2 separate regions of the Homo sapiens genome follow, and region 2 is linked to region 1. Evidence: promoter capture Hi-C in 16 types of primary human blood cells and fetal thymus (Javierre and others, 2016). All regions are on one chromosome and are shown on one strand. Each heading gives the region's core, a stretch centred on a gene start or on the middle of the fragment in contact. The rest is flanking DNA. Distances are from core to core; before and after follow the strand shown. Region 1 holds the start of SCN2B (sodium voltage-gated channel beta subunit 2). Region 2 holds the start of TMEM25 (transmembrane protein 25).

What was found. Contacts are between HindIII fragments. The CHiCAGO score rates a contact against its expected background, and 5 or more counts as called.
Region 2: the fragment with the promoter of TMEM25 here is called in contact with a fragment that was not itself captured in region 1 in 3 of 17 cell types (activated CD4 T cells, total CD8 T cells and fetal thymus); the score reaches 7.0 in activated CD4 T cells.

The regions. Positions count from the first base shown.
Region 1 is chr11:118,174,690-118,178,275 of GRCh38, forward strand. SCN2B (sodium voltage-gated channel beta subunit 2) reads right to left here and starts at 1,950. Exons shown (of 4, transcript NM_004588.5): 1 at 1,673-1,950. The coding sequence starts at 1,742. The HindIII fragment of the contact is 605 bases long and covers 1,274-1,878 here.
Region 2 is chr11:118,529,698-118,533,238 of GRCh38, forward strand. It overlaps TMEM25 (transmembrane protein 25), which reads left to right and starts at 1,495. Exons shown (of 9, transcript NM_032780.4): 1 at 1,495-1,537; 2 at 2,078-2,174; 3 at 2,453-2,764; 4 at 3,220-3,510. The coding sequence starts at 2,105. It overlaps TTC36 (tetratricopeptide repeat domain 36), which reads left to right. Exons shown (of 3, transcript NM_001080441.4): 3 at 957-1,296. The coding sequence ends at 1,219. TTC36-AS1 (TTC36 and KMT2A antisense RNA 1) reads right to left here and starts at 1,078. Exons shown (of 3, transcript NR_120574.1): 1 at 807-1,078. RefSeq lists silencers at 1-251, 773-1,052, 1,173-1,612, 1,643-1,742. The HindIII fragment of the contact is 5,363 bases long and covers 1-3,539 here.

The DNA of each region.
Region 1 (3,586 bases), core at 326-2,825:
CACTCAGACCTCTTCATCGCAGACTCCCTCTTCCTCACCCTAGCCCAGAGCTCTGGGTCCTGGTCACTGAGCCCCCTTTCTATCTTTACTTAGCCATGGCTCTCACCAGGCGGCTTCTCTCCTGCACGAAGTGCTTCCTAACTCCTGAGGAAAGGGTCCTGTCCTCCAGCTGGGCCTCCTTACAACAGGCCACTCACCCAACTCCCCTTCTTTCAGCCTGTCCTGAGACTCTGATCAATTAGGTACTGTTAATATAGCAGTGCCATTTCTTGAACATTGGGGAGTGGAATCCAACGTTTAAGAGAATGTGCTGAAGTCAGACACAGGGAGTTCAAATTTCAGCTCCCGTTACCATAGTCATCTGTTTCCTCCCTGTAACCTGAGTATAATAGAATCTACCTCCGATTGCTGTGAGGGCTAAACAAGATACACAGTGCCTGGGCTCACGAAAAGCATTCTTATGTTAGCCATCGTTGAGTTCCTGCCATGCACCAAATCACAAACACGTCAGGCAGTAGGCATTCTTTAGTTTACCCGGGAGGGAACTGAAGCTCAGAGGGGTTGAGTAACTTGCCTGTGATCATTACGTAAATGACAAAGGTGGCTTGAAACCCAGGTCCTGCCAGAGATTCCATAGCATTCCTGCTCTGATGTTAATATGCCAAGTAACTCAGCAAAGCAGGCTGGCAGGGCCTCTGCACTGTCTGTGTTTAGCACTCCTACTCCAAACCCAGCACATCACACCACAGAAAGAGAGAGAGCCTTTGTGGTGGGGAATAGTTCCATCAACAGTCCTTGGACTTGACTCTCAGTTGCTGCTCCAGCAATAAGTAAGTTTAGGAGCAAGAATGAAACTCTACAAAGCAGGCTTGCAAATAACTTTCTAGCCCACTTCCCCACCAGGAAGTCTCTGAGTGGTCAAATACAAACACTTGACAGGACAGTCTGCAAGACTGGGCTGGGCAGTTCTGAGGCTGGATTTAAAGGGCTGCAACCTCGCTCAGCCTGTGGGTTCCATTTTTTTCCTGAATCTCTACACCTGGCCCTTCCTCCATTCCATCCGGCCCAAGCCAAAGGTGCCTTCTCCATCAGTGCGTGCCTCAGCAGGTCTCCTCCCAACCCAGACATCATTCCCCAAGCCCGCTTCCCACCTACTCCCACACACGTTCCAACAGATCAGTGAGACCGAGTGCCAAGAAGCCAGACCCAGACTCAACTTTCTGCCACCAGCTCCCCTGCACACTCTCCTAATACCCTAAATCCACCAGGATCAAGCTTCTGAAAAGAAGCCCCTTAAGGGAGCATTAAGTCCCAGGACCCCGCATTTGCAGCAACTCCAAAAAATAATCCCTGAAGAGACTGCAGGTCAATCCACTCTCTGCCCCACCGCCACGTAGGTCCACTTAGGGGAAATCCAGAGAAGATTCACCTCCCTTGACAATTGTCAGCCCCCAGCAACACTCAGATCCCCTGACCCAACATTTCTGTGACTAAGTAGTCCCAGGGTTCTGCACTCCCCAGCAACGTCCCTTCCAGTCCCCAGCACCTCCCCTCCCAAGGACACAGAGGGAAAGCGCTAGCAATGTCTTCTTTCCTATCCCCTGCCCCCATCCTCTTCACATTGCGGCTACACTTCTGAACCCTCGGGAGCATGCAGATGTGTCTAACTTACCCAAAGAGAAAAAGAGACTGAGCCCCGTGAGGCTGAAGGCAGGGCGAGGTAGCCAGGCATCTCTGTGCATTTTCAGAGACTGAGATGTTAGTCGGGTGGGCTACGGGAGAGGGTGATTTGAGGGGGCGAGAACTACAAGGGAGGAATGGTTGGATGCTAAAAAAAAATGCACGGATGTACTTCAAAGACATATACAACATTAAGGAAGCTTTATTTCCATCTCTCTAATATGGCCGGCTTGTATGTTGCTGCTAAAAAGAGAGAGAGAGGGAGTGTGTAAAGGAGAGAGAGAGAGATGGGGGGGAGAGAAAAGGGGGATGGGGTAAATATTGTGGTTGGTGGATTTCAAAAAGCAGGTGGGAGGGCATAAAAAAGTCATTTTGAAAAGAACAAAATCCCAGAAATTTTTACCCTCTAAAACAAGAAATAATACAAACCCTGCTTTTTGACTTCACTGGGATGATTGTTGGATTTTGAAAGCTATTAGAGGAATCCATTTATTTTAAAGATTCTGGAAAGGGAAACACCTTTTATCATTTAAAAACACCCCCAGGCTGACGCAGTGGCTCACACCTGTAATTCCAGCACTTTGGGAGGCCGGATGGATTGCTTGAGTCCAGGAGTTCAAGACCAGCCTGGGCAACATGGCAAAACCCATCTCTACTAAAAATACAAAATTTAGCCAGGCATAATGTCGCATGCCTCTTGTCCCAGCTACTGCACCGCACTCCAGCCTGGGCCCTGCCTCCAGAGGGAAAAAAAAAAAAAAAACCTAAAAAAAAAAAGGAGATGCTTGTTTTTGTGTTATTGAAAAGGGTTCAGGAAAGTGAGTTGGAGAGACTTTCAAGGGGTAATGCTTTCCTCATTCTAGCGTTTCCTCTGAAAACAGAACATGTTGAAGCAGGCTGATAGAAAAATACCCAAGAGATCTTACAATTGAATGTAACACAGGCCTTTGGATAAACCTGATTCAAACAAATCAACAGGAAAGAAAAGTTTTTGAGACAATTGGGAAAAGTTAAATATGAACTACATAGTAGATTGTATTAATGAATCATTCTTAATTTTGTTGGGTCTGATAAAATGTGGTTTTGTCCTTTAACATCTCTATCTGTTAAAGACACACATGGGTGGCCGGGCGGGGTGGCTCACACCTGTAATCCCAGCACTTTGGGAGGCCGAGGCAGGCAGATCACCTGAGGTCAGGAGTTCGAGACCAGCCTCCCTAACATGGTGAAACCCTGTCTCTACTAAAAATACAAAAGTTAGCCGGGTGTGGTGGCGTGTGCCTGTAATCCCAGCTACTTGGGGGGACTGAGGCAGGAGAATTGCTTGAACCTGGGAGGCGGAGGTTGCAGTGAGTCGAGATCACTCCGCTACATCCCAGCCTGGGCCACAGAGTGAGACTCCATCTCAAAAATACATATATATATATTCAACGAAAAAAAGAGATGGGAGAATAGGTGACACGAGACTAGTTGTTTTGCTTGATAATTGAAACTAGCTGGTGATGGGTGTAAAGGGTTTGTCATATAGTTCTCTCTTCTTTTGTGTATGTTTAAAACTTTTCTTTTGAAGAAGGAAGAAAAAATAAGCTAACGTCATAAGTAGGAGAACTTGGTGGGTGGAGTCCAAGGTGGTCCTAAGCAGAGGTGACCCCCATACTCCTGGGGAGATGGTTAAGTAGGGCAGAGATTCGCATGCAGCAGTCACCTGCATTTGTGATGGGCCCTTTGTGTACCAAACAGGGAGCAACTAATATTTTTGAGCATAAACTCTGTGCCAAGCACTTTACATGTGATATCTCAATTTTTTATTTTTTTATTTTATTATTTTTTTTTAGACAGGGTCTCGCTCTGTCACCCAGGCTGCAGTGCAGTGGTGCAATCTCAGCTCACTGCAATCTCTGCCTTC
Region 2 (3,541 bases), core at 245-2,744, 350 kb after region 1:
CTTATCCAGGCTTATCTGCCCCAGATCACTGGAGACAGCCTGCAGACCAAAACCCCAGAGAGATGCAGTGGTGATTCCAACTGGAGATTCCTCCAGACCAGCTCCTCCGAGGGAAACCAAGGAGTACTGCATTCTGAGCGCTTCTCCGGAGGCTCAGGCTCTTTGGGGGACTAGAGAACATGAGTGAATTGAAGCAGAGCCCGAAAGAAGCCAGCCTGGTGGACTTTAAGAAGGTGGCTGGCTGCCTGAAGTTCTGAGTTCAGAGTTCTGAGGCCCAACCCAAGTATTTTATGAGAATAATAACAATAAAAATGGTGCAGGCCAGCTCTGGCTCCAGGACCAAGGAAATTAGATACATGGAGATAACCAAAGAATGATGAAAGGCAATCAGTCCAGGATACAGGGGAGAGAGAAGGTGTTCTAAAGAAAGCAATGGAAAAGAGAAAACGGCCCTCAAAAGGAAAACAATGAGAAACTGTCTTGATTGTACTTGTAAGAAATGATTGTGCGGTTAATATTATTTTTTGAACCCTGACATTCAGAGTCAGTCACCTGGCACATAGTGGATGCTTAATAACAGGTGTGGAATAAATTGGCTGCTACTTGCCCGGGCAGTGGGCCAGACTCATAAACATAGTGGCCATTCAGAATCCTGCAACGTTCATGTTTTCGTGTATTAGCGGTGGAAAATAATAGGAACAAGGCGAGACCTGGACTTCAGTCCCAGCTCTGCCACTAAGTGGCTTGGCTGTAGAGCTTAACTCTTCCACAGTCTTCATCTGTGTAATGGGAATAACGATCCGTACCTCTAGCAGGTGCGAGGCGGGTTGTAAATGGCCACGCCCGGGAGCCGCAAGAACCACGGTGATCCGCGCGGCCGCAGGTGGGCTGGGGCTCGGGCAAGGCCGCCCTGGCCTCCGCTGACCCCCGCCCCGCCCGTCTCGTCGGTCCCGCAGGCGCCCTGGAGGATCTGGAACGCGCGGTGGAGCTGAGCGGCGGCCGGGGCCGCGCCGCCCGCCAGAGCTTTGTGCAGCGCGGACTCCTGGCGCGGCTGCAGGGCCGAGACGACGACGCCCGCAGGGACTTCGAGAGGGCGGCACGGCTGGGCAGCCCCTTCGCGCGGCGCCAGCTGGTGCTGCTCAACCCCTACGCCGCGCTGTGCAACCGCATGCTGGCCGACATGATGGGGCAGCTGCGCCGCCCCCGTGACAGCCGCTGAGCGCCGCGGACCCGGGCGTCCGCGGGCGAGGGGACGGGACTGGGCCCTGAACCAATAAAGCCGTCGGGCCTCACCGACTCCGCCTGCTCCTGCGTCCTGCCCGCGCCCGGAGAGAAGGGCACTCGGGGGTACTCGGCGCGGGCTGGGGACCAGCCGGGGGGTGGTGAGCCGCGGCCGCCCACCTGCCGGGTAAGGGCCCCTCGGGCCCGTGGTCGGGCATCGATTGGCCCCGCCTGGCGCAGCCCCCGCCCCTGCAGCGGACTGCGGTGCTCATCAGACCTGAGCAGTTGCTCCGGCGGCGCTCGGGGAGGGAGCCAGGTGAGCCGCCCCGGTGGCGGGGGGCGGGGGCGGGATGCTCGGCGACCCCACCCTCCGACCCTCTCCTCTTCCGCCGACATCCACCGGAGCCACCAACATCAGGAAAGGGGGCGTAGGGCGAGGGATGGGAGAGAGAACAGGGCAGGAGAGAGGATGGGAACAGGGCAGGAGAGAGAATAGGATTAGGAGAAAGGCGATCCCTTTGGGGGAGGGGCGCGTGGAGTATGTGTGTGAGTGTGCGTGTGTGCAAGGTGTGGTTGCACGGATGCTCGTTGCTTCTGCGTATCTGCGGGTGTGTGCCTCTTTGTATTGTAGCCTGGAGTCAGTGCTCGCTTCTGCGCCTGCAGGATGTCCATGTGTCTGCTGGGTGGGTCTGTGCCTTTGGGCTTTGCCGTTCGTGTCCGTGCCTTCGCCACTGGGGGCTGGTCTACATTTGCGTTTCCGTACATGGTTCTTTTTGTTTCTGGAGAGTAAATTCCTGGAGCAATTGCTAGGCCTGCCTGCTGTCACCTGGCTGACAGGCCCGCCCCCTTCTCTCAGCAGCCTAGGGCCTAGGCCCGGGCCACCATGGCGCTGCCTCCAGGCCCAGCCGCCCTCCGGCACACACTGCTGCTCCTGCCAGCCCTTCTGAGCTCAGGTACACCCCTGTTCAGTCGTTGACCAAGTCCTTCTGGGTTCCAAAGCCCCCTCTCTCCCCTGTCTGCACTTCTGTTTGGGTACCCACTCCAGGCCCCAAGCCCTGGAGTCCCTGTCCCCTTCACCCACCTACCCTAGGTCCAACCAGCCAGTCCCTGGTGAGAGGACTCAGGTGCCCTTTCCTTTGGCCTGCTGCTCTTCTCACTGGGCCAATTCCTGGTCACAGCACAGTACCAACCGTGCCTGAGCCCTTCCCAGAGGCCTCCTGCTGTGTTCCAGGTTGGGGGGAGTTGGAGCCACAAATAGATGGTCAGACCTGGGCTGAGCGGGCACTTCGGGAGAATGAACGCCACGCCTTCACCTGCCGGGTGGCAGGGGGGCCTGGCACCCCCAGATTGGCCTGGTATCTGGATGGACAGCTGCAGGAGGCCAGCACCTCAAGACTGCTGAGCGTGGGAGGGGAGGCCTTCTCTGGAGGCACCAGCACCTTCACTGTCACTGCCCATCGGGCCCAGCATGAGCTCAACTGCTCTCTGCAGGACCCCAGAAGTGGCCGATCAGCCAACGCCTCTGTCATCCTTAATGTGCAATGTGAGTGGCCCTGAGGTGGGCAGGGAGATAGGTTCTTTGCCCAGGGACCCCCAGCACCCACCAGGCAGGTGGTCCGCAGGACATTTAGCAGACACTTAAGCACTTTGCAAATATGAACTCATTTGATCCTCTGAGTAACCCCATGAGGTCATTACTATTGTCGTCACCATTTTACAAATAAGAAAACTGAGGCAGAAAGAGGTAAGCAATCTGCCCAGGGTGATGATCCCGCTGGTAAGAAGCAGAGCCAGGATTCACATCTGGGCATTTGGCTCTAGTATTTACACTCATAATCACTCCGAAATGCTGCCTCTCTGGCAGACCCAGCCATCCTGTTCCTCAGCATCCCCTCTGAGGAGAGGCCCAGGCCCCTGGCTCCCATCTGGGTTTGGGAAGAAAGGGCTAGAAGTATGAGGGGCTGTGGTGAGAGCATATTGGCCTCTGCTTTGTACCAGTCAAGCCAGAGATTGCCCAAGTCGGCGCCAAGTACCAGGAAGCTCAGGGCCCAGGCCTCCTGGTTGTCCTGTTTGCCCTGGTGCGTGCCAACCCGCCGGCCAATGTCACCTGGATCGACCAGGATGGGCCAGTGACTGTCAACACCTCTGACTTCCTGGTGCTGGATGCGCAGAACTACCCCTGGCTCACCAACCACACGGTGCAGCTGCAGCTCCGCAGCCTGGCACACAACCTCTCGGTGGTGGCCACCAATGACGTGGGTGTCACCAGTGCGTCGCTTCCAGCCCCAGGTGAGCATGGCCAGCAAGCGGCCCTGCAAAG